3 separate regions of the Homo sapiens genome follow, and all the other regions are linked to region 1. Evidence: promoter capture Hi-C in human tissues and cell types (Jung and others, 2019). All regions are on one chromosome and are shown on one strand. Each heading gives the region's core, a stretch centred on a gene start or on the middle of the fragment in contact. The rest is flanking DNA. Distances are from core to core; before and after follow the strand shown.

Region 1 (4,884 bases), core at 1,282-3,781:
TGGTGTGATCTCAGCTCACTGCAACCTTTGCCTCCTGGGTTCAAGCGATTCTCGTGCCTCAGCCTCCCAAGTAGCTGGGATTACAGGCGTACACCACCACGCCTGGCTAATTTTTGTACTTTTTGGAGAGACAGGTTTTTGCCATTTTGGCCAGGCTGGTCTCGAACTCCTGGCCTCAGGTGGTCTGCCCGCCTCGGCCTCCCAAAGTGCTGAGATTACAGGCATGAGCCACCGCGCCTGGCCTTGTTAAATAAAATGTATGGCAGGCCATTGTTTTAGACAATGGGGTCTCTAGTCCCCAGCAGACCAGATAAAATTGGAATGGAGTCACTAGTGCCAGGTACCACGTAGTCAAACTGATCTTTTATTTTTTTTATTTTTTGAAATAGGGTCTCGCTCCGTTGCCCACACTGGAGTGCAGTGGCGCAATCATGGCTGACTGCAGACTTGAACTCCTGGATGCAAGCCATTCTCCTGCCTCAGCCTCCCGAGGAGCTGGGACTACAGGTGTGTGCCAGCACATGTGGCTAATTATTAAAAATTTTTTTGGCTGGGTGCCGTGGCTCACGCCTGTAACTGCAGCACTTTGGGAGGTCGAGGTGGGTGGATCACGAGGTCAGGAGTTCAGGACCAGCCTGGCCAAGATGGTGAAACCAGGTCTCTACTAAAAATACAAACATTAGCTGGGCATGGTGGCGGGTGCCTGTAATCCCAGCTACTCGGGAGGCAGAGAATTGCTTGAACCCAGGAGGTGGAGGTTGCAGTGAGCCGAGATCATGCCATTGCACTCCAGCCTGGGTGACAAGAGCAAGACTCTGTCTCCAAAAAAAAAAAATTTTTTTTTTTGGAGACAGAGTCTCACTATGTTGCCCAGGATGTTCTCAAACTCCTAGGCTTAAGCGATCTCCCCATCTCAGCCTCCCAAAGTGCTGAGATTACAGGTGAGAGCCACCCGTACCTGGCCTCAAACTGAACTTTAAAGGGTGCAGGTTTTCAAAAAAAAACATTCACAGCCACCAAGCCAAAGGGGACCGGTTAACCTGATAGGGAAGTACCCTCAAAATAGAGGGGGTTAAAACAGACCCTATGAAAAAAGTAACTTTGAAACAACCAATTGGTTTTTATTTCGTATTTTTATTTTTACTTTTTTTGAGACAAACTCTCACTCTGTCACCCAGGCTGGAATGCAGTGATGTGATCAGGGCTCACTGCAACCTTGACCTCTCTTGCTCAAACAATCCTGCCACCTTAGCCTCCCAAATACCTAGGACTATAGGCGCCCAGCTAATTTTTTTTTTTTTTTTTTTTTGAGGTGGAGTCTTACTCTGTTGCCTAGGCTGGAGTGCAGTGGTTCAATCTTGGCTCCCTGCAACCTCCGCCTCCCGGGTTAAAGCAATTCTCCTGCCTCAGCTTCCCGAGTAGCTGAGACTACAGGCATGTGCCACCATGCCTGGCTAATTTTTGTATTTTTAGTAGAGACGGGATTTCACCATATTGGTCAGGCTGGTCTCGAACTCCTGACCTCATGATCTGCCCGGCTTGGCCTCCTAAAGTGCTGGGAATACAGGTGTGAGCCACTGCACCTGGCTAATTTTTTTATTTTTATTTTTAGAAATGGGGTCTTGCTATGTTGCCCAGGCCAGTCTCAAACTCCTGGGCTCAGGCTATCCTCCCACCTCCGCCTCCCAAAGTGCTGGCATTACAGGCGTGAGCAAACCACTGTACCTGGCCTGGCTTTTATTTTAATTCTTATTTCTCCTTTCTTCAGCCTTTTCTGCCTGTAATGCAGAATGCCCATCCTCTCTGCTCAGCTCATTGGAGTGCCTATTTAATAGATTGAATGCTATCCAATTCATGAATTGCTAATAAGAGCCAATGAGATCATTAAACTCAATTTGTTGAAATTCATACTCCTTGACAGCCTCTTCTGGACATTTTATATCAGTGGCATTGTACACTATATGGCTTTTTTTTTTTTTTTTTTTTTTTTTTGAGACAAAGTTTCTCATTGTTGCCCAGGCTGGAGTGCAGTGCCGCGATCTTGGCTTACTGCAACCTCCACGTCCCAAGTTCAAGAGATTCTCCTGCCTCAGCCTCCCAAGTAGCTGGGATTACCGGCGCGCGCCTCCGTAGTAGAGATGGTGTGGGGGGGTCTCCCTATGTGGTCCAGGCTGATCTCGAAATTCTTTTCTCAAGTGATCCACCGGCCTTGGCCTCCCAAAGTGCTGGGATTACAGGCGTGAGCCACCACGCCCGGCCCTATATGGCCTTTTGTGTCTGGTTCTTTGAACACGTTTTGAGGTTCTCTAAGTGGGGAAACAGGTACTAGAAAGCAACCCAACGCTGTTTCCTCGTGGCGGAGCTGGGAGTTTGCAGCCAGGAAGTCTGTCTCTGGAGTCAGCGCCTCTGCGAAGCGAGAGCTGGACGGAGACTTCAACTTCCGGCGTGCCCCGCGCGCGCCCGGCGGTCGGACTACCAGTCCCAGGCTGCCCCGCCGCGGCGGGCGGCGGGCGCGGCGCGGCGCGGCGCCATCTTGCAGCCGGCGGCGCGGATTGAATGAGCCCGCCGAGCCCGGGCCGCCGTCGGGAGCAGCGCAGGCCGCGAGCCGCCGCCACCATGGCCACGCCGCTGCCCGGCCGCGCGGGCGGGCCCGCCACGCCGCTGTCGCCCACGCGCCTGTCGCGGCTGCAGGAGAAGGAGGAGCTGCGCGAGCTCAACGACCGCCTGGCGCACTACATCGACCGCGTCCGCGCGCTGGAGCTGGAGAACGACCGGCTCCTGCTCAAGATCTCAGAGAAGGAGGAGGTGACCACGCGCGAGGTGGGCGCCGGGGCTTAGGGGCCGGGCGGGGGTGCAGCCGGCAGGCCCCGCCCACCGCGGGGCGCGCGATCGCGGGGACCCTGGGCGGGGGTGCAGACGGGGACGGGCCCCGGCTTCGGGGGTTTCCGCGGGGTTTCGGGGGGCCCCTGAGTGAGGGGTGCAGCTCGGCCAGGTCCCTCCCACCGCGGGGTGGGCAATCGCTGGGACCCTGGGTGCAGACAGGGACGGGCCCGGGTCTCGAGGGTCTCCAGGGGGTTTCGAGGGGCCCCTGAGTGAGCGGTGCAGTTCGGCCAGGCCCCGCCCACCGCGGGGTGCGTGATCGCGGGGACCCTGGGCGGGGGTGCAGACGGGGACAGGCTCCGGCTCGGGGGTCTCCAGGAGGTTTGGGGGCTTCTGAGTGAGGGGTGCTGCTCGGCTAGGCCCAGCCCACTGCGGGGCTCCCAGTCGCGGGGAACCCTGAGCTGGGATGCAGACGGGGACAGTCCGGCCTCGGGGATCTCCGCCGCGTTTCGGAGAGTCCCTGAGTGAAAGGTGCTACTCGGCCAGGCCCCGCCCACCACGGGGCGCGCGATCGCGGGGGACTCTGAACGACTCCCGGCTTGGGGTCTCCAGGGGGTTTGCGGGGGGCTCCTGGATGAAGGGTGCAGGTCCTGGCCACCGCGGGGTGCGCGATCGCGGGGACCCTGGGCAGGGGTGCAGACCGGGAAGGGTCCCGGCTTGGGGGTCTCCAGGGGGTTTCAAGGGGTCCCTGAGTGAGGGGTGCAGCTCGGCCAGGCCCAGCCCACCGCGGAGTACGCGATCACGGGGGACCCTGAGCAGGGGTGGGGTCAGCCTGGCCTCGGGGATCTCCAGGGGGAGACCCTGAGTGAGGGGTGCCACCTGGGCAGGCCCTGCCCACCGCAGTTTCCGAGATCTTGGGGGACCCCTTGGGAGGGGTGCAGACCGGAGTGGCCCATTCTCTTGGGGACCTCCAGGGGGTTTCTAGGGCACTGAGTGAAAAGTGCAGACCAGGAATGCCCCACCTATGGAGGGGGTCCCAGGAGATCTTCCGTGTCCTGAGTGAGGGCTGCAGAGGGGCCTCCAGCTAGCTCTGGGGACCCTTCCGTGAGAGGTGCATTTTGGGGCCATGGGGGTTACAGACTAGGGCTCCCCACCAAAGAGAGGTCCTGGGGATTTGGGGGCTCCCTGAGTATTGGGCTGCAGCCCCCCATATGCCTCGTCCCTCAGAGGATTCCAAGGAGACTTGGCGGACCCCCCCCAACTGAGGGGGTGTGAGTGGGAGTCTCTGGGGATGAAGCTGGGTATTGGGGTATCTGGGGTGGAATGGGGGTGGTCTCTGGGCTCCAAGGAGACTGGGGGGCCCAGGCCCTCTGAGGAGGCCCAAGATGGGGTGTGTGGGGGGTCTCCCTGGAGTCTCTGGGGTGAGTCACGTGGTCTCAGTTCTCCCTGGAGCTTTAGCGAGTTCCCTGATGAATCCAGAAGAGATTGGTGACTGGGGTGGGAATTAGGCCCCTCATCTCTCACCAGGCCCAGGGTGGGTAGGGGGCCGAGGGAGAGGTTCTGATACCTTGGGGTCCCACGGGAAATTTGGGAGTCCCTTATTTGTGCCCTGGTGTCAGCGGTGGTCTGGCAGGTTCTGCCCCCAAGAGAATATGAAGGAAGGGTGAGAGTTGGGATCTTGGGTCCGGTGGAAAGTGTTGAGGTTCTGAATGGGCCCCGAGGCTTCAGTGCAGACTGAAGGAGAAGAGGCGGGAAAGTCTGCCCACCAAGGGGACATGAGGTCGGGGTGTCTTGGGGTCTGGGTGCAATCTGTCCTGCCCCCCAACCTAACCCTGGGGAGGCTCTTTGTCCCTCCCACTGGCCATGCCCAATCCAAGGACAGGACTCCAGAACGGGGGGCAGGCAGGAGCACCCACTTGATTCCTGCCATGGGTTGGGGTCCTGGGGTCCCTAGGCCCCAGTGTCCTGTTGGGAGAGCTGGGTGCCGAAGTCGGGATTTGCAGCGCCCAGTCCCCACTCGCCCATCTGGAGATCAGAGGACGTGGTGGGCTTCTGGGAGAAGAG
Region 2 (4,725 bases), core at 1-2,500, 720 kb before region 1:
GTTAGCAATAACGTGAACGTGTGAACAATCAAGCAGCTGGCCAATCGTTTCCTCCCCCTGCTTTCTACCCAATAAGTACGAAGGGCTGTAGAAGCTTGGGGGGCTGCCTTTGCTCACTAGAAGCAGGGAGCTCTCTTTTTCTTCCCCTGGTCCCTTCCTTTAAAACAGTTTCTTCTGTCTTAAGTTTTCATTTCTACATTCGTCCCTTCGTTCAGTCTTGTAATGATGGTCTCAAGTAGTAACAATAGTAACTGTCGTAGTGACAGTCTCAGGTAGTAATCATGGCAACCACACACAGGCGTCCCATGAAGGGTACAGGCATCCCATGAGGGCACAGGTGTCCCATGAGAATGCAGGCGTCCCATGAGGGGCACAGGCATCCCATGAGAACACAGGCATCCCATGAGGGGCACAGGCGTCCCATGAGGGTACAGGCATCCCATGAGGGCACAGGTGTCCCATGAGAATGCAGGCGTCCCATGAGGGCACAGGCATCCCATGAGGGGCACAGGCATCCCATGAGAGCACAGATGTCCCATGAGGGGTACAGGCGTCCCATGAGGGTACAGGCATCCCATGAGAACACAGGCGTCCCATGAGGGGTACAGGCATCCCATGAGGGCACAGGCATCCCATGAGAACACAGGTGTCCCATGAGAACACAGGTGTCCCATGAGGGCACAGGCGTCCCATGAGAATGCAGGCGTCCCATGAGAACGCAGGCGTCCCATGAGGGCACAGGCGTCCCATGAGGGCACAGGTGTCCCATGAGGGGCACAGGCGTCCCATGAGAACACAGGCGTCCCATGAGGGGCACAGGCGTCCCATGAGAACACAGGCGTCCCATGAGGGCACAGGCGTCCCGTGAGAACACAGGTGTCCCATGAGGGGCACAGGCGTCCCATGAGAACACAGGCGTCCCATGAGGGCACAGGCGTCCCATGAGAACACAGGTGTCCCATGAGGGGCACAGGCGTCCCATGAGAACACAGGCGTCCCATGAGGGCACAGGCGTCCCATGAGAACACAGGTGTCCCATGAGGGGCACAGGCGTCCCATGAGAACACAGGCGTCCCATGAGGGCACAGGCGTCCCATGAGGGGCACAGGCGTCCCATGAGAACACAGGCGTCCCATGAGGGCACAGGCGTCCCATGAGGGCACAGGTGTCCCATGAGGGGCACAGGCGTCCCATGAGAACACAGGCGTCCCATGAGGGGCACAGGCGTCCCATGAGAACACAGGCGTCCCATGAGGGCACAGGCGTCCCATGAGAACACAGGCGTCCCATGAGGGGCACAGGCGTCCCATGAGAACACAGGCGTCCCATGAGAACACAGGCGTCCCATGAGGGCACAGGCGTCCCATGAGGGCACAGGCGTCCCATGAGAACACAGGCGTCCCATGAGGGCACAGGCGTCCCATGAGGGCACAGGCGTCCCATGAGAACACAGGCGTCCCATGAGGGCACAGGCGTCCCATGAGGGCACAGGCGTCCCATGAGGGCACAGGCGTCCCATGAGAACACAGGCGTCCCATGAGGGGCACAGGCGTCCCATGAGAACACAGGCGTCCCATGAGGGCACAGGCGTCCCATGAGGGGCACAGGCGTCCCATGAGAACACAGGCGTCCCATGAGGGCACAGGCGTCCCATGAGGGCACAGGCGTCCCATGAGAACACAGGCGTCCCATGAGGGCACAGGCGTCCCATGAGAACACAGGCGTCCCATGAGGGCACAGGTGTCCCATGAGAACACAGGCGTCCCATGAGAACACAGGTGTCCCATGAGGGCACAGGTGTCCCATGAGAATTCAGGCGTCCCATGCGGGGCACGGGCATCCCATGAGAACACAGGCATCCCATGAGGGGCACAGGCGTCCCATGAGGGTACAGGCATCCCATGAGAACACAGGCGTCCCATGAGGGCACAGGCATCCCATGAGGGGCACAGGCATCCCATGAGGGCACAGATGTCCCATGAGGGGTACAGGCGTCCCATGAGGGTACAGGCATCCCATGAGAACACAGGCGTCCCATGAGGGGTACAGGCATCCCATGAGGGCACAGGCATCCCATGAGAACACAGGTGTCCCATGAGAACACAGGTGTCCCATGAGGGCACAGGCGTCCCATGAGAATGCAGGCGTCCCATGAGAACACAGGTGTCCCATGAGGGCACAGGCGTCCCATGAGGGCACAGGCGTCCCATGAGAACACAGGTGTCCCATGAGAGGCACAGGCGTCCCATGAGAACACAGGCGTCCCATGAGGGCACAGGCGTCCCATGAGAACACAGGTGTCCCATGAGGGGCACAGGCGTCCCATGAGAACACAGGCGTCCCATGAGGGCACAGGCGTCCCATGAGAACACAGGCGTCCCATGAGGGGCACAGGCGTCCCATGAGAACACAGGCGTCCCATGAGGGCACAGGAGTCCCATGAGAACACAGGCGTCCCATGAGGGGCACAGGCGTCCCATGAGAACACAGGCGTCCCATGAGGGCACAGGCGTCCCATGAGGGCACAGGCGTCCCATGAGGGGCACAGGCGTCCCATGAGAACACAGGCGTCCCATGAGGGCACAGGCGTCCCATGAGGGCACAGGCGTCCCATGAGGGGCACAGGCGTCCCATGAGAACACAGGCGTCCCATGAGGGCACAGGCATCCCATGAGGGCACAGGCATCCCATGAGGGCACAGGCGTCCCATGAGAACACAGGCGTCCCATGAGGGCACAGGCGTCCCATGAGAACACAGGCGTCCCATGAGAACACAGGCATCCCATGAGGTCACAGGCGTCCCATGAGGGCACAGGCATCCCATGAGGGCACAGGCGTCCCATGAGAACACAGGCGTCCCATGAGGGCACAGGTGTCCCATGAGAACACAGGTGTCCCATGAGGGCACAGGCATCCCATGAGGGGCACAGGCATCCCATGAGAACACAGGCATCCCATGAGGGGCACAGGCGTCCCATGAGAACACAGGCATCCCATGAGGGGCACAGGCATCCCATGAGAACACAGGCGTCCCATGAGGGCACAGGCATCCCATGAGGGGCACAGGCGTCCCATGAGAACACAGGCATCCCATGAGGGCACAGGCGTCCCATGAGAACACAGGCGTCCCATGAGAACACAGTTGTCCCATGAGGGCACAGGCGTCCCATGAGGGCACAGGTGTCCCATGAGAACACAGGTGTCCCATGAGAACACAGGTGTCCCATGAGGGCACAGGTGTCCCATGAGAATGCAGGCATCCCATGCGGGGCACAGGCATCCCATGAGGGTACAGGCATCCCATGAGGGGCACAGGTGTCCCATGAGAACACAGGTGTCCCATGAGGGGCACAGGCGTCCCATGAGGGTACAGGCATCCCATGAGAACACAGGCGTCCCATGAGGGGCACAGGCGTCCCATGAGGGTACAGGCGTCCCATGAGAACACAGCCATCCCATGAGGGCACAGGCATCCCATGAGAACACAGACGTCCCATGAGGGGTACAGGCGTCCCATGAGGGGTACAGGCGTCCCATGAGAACACAGGCCTCCCATGAGGGGCACAGGTGTCCCATGAGGGCACAGACGTCCCATGAGAACACAGGCGTCCCATGAGCGGCACAGTATCGGCCCTGAGAAGCGGGGGCACCCCAGGGAGGGCAGGGCTGGCAGGAGACGGGGGCTGATCGCAGCACATGCTGGGGCCCCATGGCCCCTCCCTTTGCTTACGGTTCAGTTCTGAAGCAGGACAGTGTCGGGAGGCTCCATGCGAGGAACTGACTGGGGAGGCAGCTGCCTTTTGTCACTGGAGGTCACCAAGCAGAAAGGGGATCTGGAGAGGGATGTGGGGCTCGGGGAGGAGGGGCCGGCAGCTGGGAGGTGAGGCCAGGAGGGAAACAAACAGCCAGGTCTTGCCCAGGCACTGCCCTGCCCAGTGAGTAGACAAGTGAGCCTCAGTCCAGCCTCACATGACTCAGGCACCTACACAGAGAGACATTGTGTGTTCTGAGGTTGAGTGCCTCATGATGGACTAAGCCCTGATCCCAGGCTAAGCCCCCTATGCTTGACTGAGCCCTGCTCCTAGGCCCAGCCCCCCACTCTGCACTGAACACTGATCCAAGGCTTAGTCCCTCATCCTAGACTGAGTCCTGATTGCTGAGTCCCAGGCCCAGCCCCCGTCCTAGACTGAGCCTTGATCCCAGGACCAGCCCCCCACTCTGTACTGAGCCTGCATCCCAAGCCCAGTCCCCATCCTAGACTGAGCCCTAATCCCTGGACTGAGCTCTCATCCCAGGCTCAGTCCACATCCAAGACTAAGCCCTAATCCCAGGCTCAGCCCCCTACCCTGGACTGAATGCTGATCCCAGGCTTGGTCCACATCCTAGACTGAACCCTAATCCCAGACACAGCCTCCAATCCTGGACCAAGACCCCCAGGTCCCAATCCCAACCTCCAACCTAGACTGATGCCTGACCCCAGGCTCAGCTCTGACTCCAAGATGAGCCCTGACCCTGGCTGAGCCCCAATCCTGAACTGAGCCCTGATCCCTGGCTGAACCCTGACCCTGACTTAGCCTATGATAATGGACAAACCCAGACCTTGACCCTTGATCCTGGTTAGAACTTGCTCCTGGACTGGACCGGGCACAGTGGTTCACACCTGTAATCCCAGCACTTTGGGAGGCTGAGACGGGCAGGTAATTTGAGGTCAGGAGCTGGAGAACA
Region 3 (4,884 bases), core at 1,704-4,203, 640 kb before region 1:
CTAGGGAGAGGCAGACCCAGCTTGGCTGGGCCTCCTGCGGAGTGCCAGGACCTCCACCCAGAGGTCTCTGAACATTCCGTGGGCCGCAGGCGCCATAGCCACCTGCTGCAGCCCAACAGCCCCTTCCTTCCGGGGAGCCTCGGCCCCACCCTCTAGCTGCTCCCTGAAAAACGGGGGCAATCGCAAGCTCGGGGCTGGCCTACTGGGAGAGTGGAATGAGTTCCCACAAGCAGGCAGGGAGCCTGACAGAGGTCCCCTCCCCTGCACCCTGAGGCCCCAGCCCCTGGACCTCAGGTGGTCAAAGTCCTCCCAGCAAGGGGCCCTCCAGCTGGGATGCAAGGTTGCTTGGACGGGAAGTTTTCTGAGGGTCTGTCGCATCAGATTCCCAAAGGGGTCCCTGGCTCCAACACCTTGGGTGTGAAGCCCTCCCAACCCCCTGACAGCCCCGGCTCTCTGCGTGGCACTGACACCAGTCCTCCTTGGGTCGCACGTGAGCTCACATCTTCCTCACTGTCCTATCTGCCACGCCTGGCCCTGAGCCTGACAGCAACCTCCCGTCTTACAGGCTGATAGGGGTCAACTTTCAGGCTCACAGAGTGGGAGGGGGTGGGACTGCAGACACAGGTGCTCCTGCAGCAGACACCCCCGGGCCACAGGCGGGCACTGGACAGAGGATGCGGGAAGGGCCGCATCACTTCCAGACTTGCTCCAAGCAGCCAAGGCGGCAGACACGGGAGCCCCTGACCTTCGTCCTTGAACCCCGTGTCAATCTCAAGTCCAAAGTGCAGGCACAGAAGACCGGGTGCATGCAGGGATGGCGGCGGGGGTTCTGGAGGTCACAGAGCCACAGGGCAAGGCCATCTGGTAAGATCTTTATGACACCAGTAATTCCTAACTCCCCTCCATCCAAACAAAGTCCACGACCCACTACAAAAGCCAGCCAGTGCCACTCTGTGCAAAGTGCCACCACGCGGGCCGCACTGCACATTTCCTCCAAACGTGAGGACCACGGCTCTGCCTACCCGCGGCCCCCTGGAAAGATGGCCCATTTTAGAACCCTTAGGTAAATCAAAACACAAGTTTGGGGAAAAAAATCAGGAAGGCGTTTCATCCAAGGCACCTCTGTAACCCGGGACACGGAGGGCCCTAAGAGGCTCACGGCAGGAGAGGCAACGTGTTCCCCACACAACATGCGACCTGCCTCCTCCCCAAGAGCCACCGCCACCAGCACGCCCCCTCCTCCGTCACCGCTGCCTCTCACGCATTTCCGACCTTCCCCACCGCCCCGCCCCCGGCCCAGGAGCTAACCTAGGAGCTCGGGAGGGCAGGGGCGGGGCAGGGCAAGAGCTTCTGTTTTGTAAACCACTGAAGGGGCCCTTATTTGGAGTGACAACACTTTACAGCTGGCCCGACTGGCTCCCTGCAGCAGGTGTGCCTTGGGGAGAAGGAGGTTCACCAGCAAACCTTCTCCAGGACGGTGGGGAGGAGCCGGCAGGTGGGGGGCTGCTCTCAACGAGGACTCAGCGTGGCTCCCACCAGGACTCTAAGGAAGGGGGCGGGGGAGGCTGCCGAGATAGCTGCTTGGGACAACAAGCAAAGGCTCCCTCAGGTGTCAACCGCCCCACCCTCAGCTGAGCGGAACCCTGAGGAGAGGAAAGACTGTCTTTTTCCCACAGGGTGCATTCCAGCCAAGAGGAGTACGGGGTTTCCCGGAACAGGAAGGCAGGAGAATGGCCCTGAAGGGAATGTGGGGATAGGGGACACGGAGGAGTCTTCGGGGGGATGGGGGGGTGTACAGGGCCTGCATGGAGGGTACAGGGCCTGCATGGAGTGTACAGGGCTCTGCCTGGAGGGAAGGGTCAACGCGGGGCCCTGAGCAGTGAGGGGTGAGTGTGCCCTGTGGGTTACAGCCCAAAGGTCTGGCCCTGAAGGGGTAGCGAGGGGTGGGTACTCCGGTGGGGTAAGGTCAGAAGGTCCCTGTGCAGGGAGGGACTGGTCCCTTGAGAAGGAACAGAGGGCAAATCCTGAAGAGTCCTGGAGGCCCAATGTAGACAGCAGAAGCTGGGAGCTGACCTAGGAGTGATCGGGGGCCTGATCCAGACAGGACAGACACAGGCTGACACCGGAGAGTCCCAGGTGCCAACATGAACAGTTAAGGCAGGGGCTGACCCCAAAGAAATCAGGGGCCCGCAGCTGACCCCGGAGGGTCCCAGGTGCCGACCTAGACAGCAAAGGCAGGGCTGACCCCAGAGGGTCCCGAGCCGACCCAGACGACACAGGCAGGGCTGATCCCGGAGGGCCCCGCCCCGACCCGGACAGGCAGTGAAGGCACAGGCAGGGCTGACACTCGAGGGTCCCGCGACCCGGACAGGCAGGGAAGGCACAGGCAGGGCTGACCCCGGAGGGTCTCGCGACCCGGACGGCACAGGCAGGGCTGACCCCGGAGGGTCCCGGCCCGACCCGGACAGGCAGGGCAGGCACAGGCAGGGCAGGGCCCGCAGCCGGCAGGCCCGGGGGCCGCACTCACCGAGCAGCAGCAGCTTGAGCTCGCGCCGGGCGTCGCGCTTGTCCCGCCGCAGCTGCTTCTCGATCTCGGCGTTGATCCGCTTGGACTCCTTCACCTCATCGCTCAGGCAACACGCCATCATGGACTCCAGAGTCATCGTCCCGGCCCCGGCCGACGCGGCCGCCTGCCCGCCGCCGCCCCCCGGCCCCCGGCCCGGCCCTGGCCGGAGCCGCCTCGGCCGCCGCCCGCCGCGGCCCTCCGGCCTCGGCCACCGGCCCTCGGCCCCGGGCCGGCCCGCCCCGCCTCGGCCGCCGCCTGGCGAGCCGCCGGGTCCCCGCTCGGGCCGCGCCAGCCGCGGACTCCCGCGCGGCCGCACTCAGCCCGCGCCGCCGCCGCAGCCACCGCCAACCGCAGCCGCCGCAACCGAGCGACAGCGCCGGACAACCTAGCAGGCTGGGAGCGCAGCCCGCGACGGGCAGACGGTGCGGCCAATGGGAGGGGCCGGCGGCCAAGCGCGCCCACCATGGGGGCGGGACTAGCGGCCTGGGCGGGGCGTCGGCGGGCGCGAAAGGGGCGGGGCGGGGCGAGGGCGGGGGGCCCGCGGGTTTGGTTGCGCCGACGTGGGAAGGGGGACGCGCAGCCGGGAGCCGGGGCGGGGCCGCCCGGGATTGTGGGAATGTGGCGGACTCGGCCCGGCCAGGCTCGGCTCCGCTCGGCTCCGTTCGGCCCCGCTCGGTCCCGCTCGGCTCGGCCCAGGCGCGGTGGCGGAGGCGCGCACGCGGCCGCTGCGCTCTCTGGGTCTCCAGGTGCCTGGGCAGCAGTCGCTGCCCCCGGGAAGCGCCCTGACATTGCCTGACAGGAACCTTCACTCATCCATTAAAAAGCGTTAATGGAGGTCGGGCGCGGTGGCTCACGCCTGTAATCCCAGCACTTTGGAAGGCCGAGGCGGGCGGATCACCTGAGGTCTGGAGTTCGAGACCAGCCTGACCAACAGGGAGAAACGCCGTCTCTACTAAAACTACAAAATTAGCCCGGCGTGGTGGTGCACGCCCGTAATCCCAGCTACTCGGGAGGCTGAGGCAGGAGAATCACTTGAACCCAGGAGGCGGAGGTTGCAGTGAGCCGAGATCACGCCATTGCACTCCAGCCTGGGCAACAAGAACGAAACTCCGTCTCCAAAGAAAAAAAAAAAAAAAGAGGGCCGGGCGCGGTGGCTCACGCCTGTAATCCCAGCACTTTGGGAGGCCGAGGCGGGTGGATCACGAGGTCAGGAGATCGAGACTATCCTGGCTGACACGGTGAAACCCCGTCTCTACTAAAAATACAAAAAATTAGCCGGGCGTGGTGGCGGGCGCCTGTAGTCCCAGCTACTCGGGAGGCTGAGGCAGGAGAATGGCGTGAACCCGGGAGACGGAACTTGCAGTGAGCTGAGATCATGCCACTGCACTCCAGCCTGGGCGACAGAGCGAGACTCTGTCTCAAAAAAAAAAATTAAAAAGCGTTAATGGGACACCTACTGTGTATCAGGCATTAATGGGACACATTCTATATGCCAGGCACGGACCAGAGATTAATGGAGTGCCTGCTGTCCATCAGGTGTCAATCAGGCCTTACTGCAGTGCCTGCACCATTCCAGGCCAGGTATACGCATTCATGAAATGCCTACAGGATACCAGGCACTGCTGTAAGCCCGTTAAGCTAACCCTACCCAAGGGATATCTTTTTTTTCTTCTTCTTTTTTTGAGATGGAGTCTTGCTCTGTCGCCCAGGCTGGAGTGCAGGGGCGTGATCTAGGTTCATTGCACCCTCTGCCTCACAGGCTCTAGTGATTCTCCTGCCTCACCCTCCCAAGTAGCTGGGATTACAGGCGCGCCACCATGCCTGGCTAATTTTGTATTTTTAGTAGAGAGCGGGTTTCGCCACGTTGGCCAGGCTGGTCTCAAACTCCTGGCCTCTAGTGATCTGCCCTCCTCGGCCTCCCAAAGCGCTGGGATTATAGATGTGAGCCACCTCACCCAGCCATATCTTTATCCTTACTTTGCAGATGAAATGGAAGTGGCCACCAGAATTTATAAAAACGTGTGTTCCCACCACCTTGCTGACTACTGAAAACCCTTTTCCCTCTCTGGCCTCCTTGGCCAACCCCTGAGCATCCTCTCCGTTTCAATTCAGACGTCAGCTCCTCAGGGAGACTTCTCCTGACTCCTCAGACCAAGCCAGGTACCTTCTCTTGAGCCACAACTTGAAATTGTATGTTCTGGCCAGGTGCGGCAGCTCCTGCCGGTAATCCCAGTACTTGGGAGGCCAAGGCAGGTGGACCGCTTGAGCTCAGGAGTTCGAGACCAGCCTAGATAACATGGCGAAACCCCATCTCTACT

Evidence for each region. The method cuts DNA at HindIII sites, captures the fragments that hold promoters and counts their contacts. A contact is called where the count stands out against the background at its distance.
Region 2: a fragment that was not itself captured here is called in contact with the fragment with the promoter of LMNB2 in region 1 in 1 of the 25 tissues and cell types used here (dorsolateral prefrontal cortex).
Region 3: the fragment with the promoter of GNA11 here is called in contact with the fragment with the promoter of LMNB2 in region 1 in 1 of the 25 tissues and cell types used here (spleen).

The regions. Positions count from the first base shown.
Region 1 is chr19:2,454,606-2,459,489 of GRCh38, reverse strand. LMNB2 (lamin B2) reads left to right here and starts at 2,531. Exons shown (of 12, transcript NM_032737.4): 1 at 2,531-2,820. The coding sequence starts at 2,557. It overlaps LINC01775 (long intergenic non-protein coding RNA 1775), which reads left to right. Exons shown (of 2, transcript NR_134931.1): 2 at 390-553. RefSeq lists silencers at 2,433-2,612, 2,733-2,982, 3,043-3,132, 3,363-3,542 and enhancers at 3,803-4,511, 4,512-4,884. The HindIII fragment of the contact is 70,551 bases long and covers 1-4,884 here.
Region 2 is chr19:3,171,450-3,176,174 of GRCh38, reverse strand. No RefSeq gene overlaps it. Among named protein-coding and RNA genes, the nearest start is that of S1PR4, 5.0 kb to the left of the region's middle. The HindIII fragment of the contact is 3,498 bases long and covers 1-2,999 here.
Region 3 is chr19:3,092,431-3,097,314 of GRCh38, reverse strand. GNA11 (G protein subunit alpha 11) reads right to left here and starts at 2,953. Exons shown (of 7, transcript NM_002067.5): 1 at 2,528-2,953. The coding sequence starts at 2,663. RefSeq lists enhancers at 187-1,174, 1,175-2,160, 2,161-3,148 and silencers at 1,201-1,290, 2,445-2,574, 2,895-3,014, 3,035-3,284. The HindIII fragment of the contact is 21,058 bases long and covers 1-4,884 here.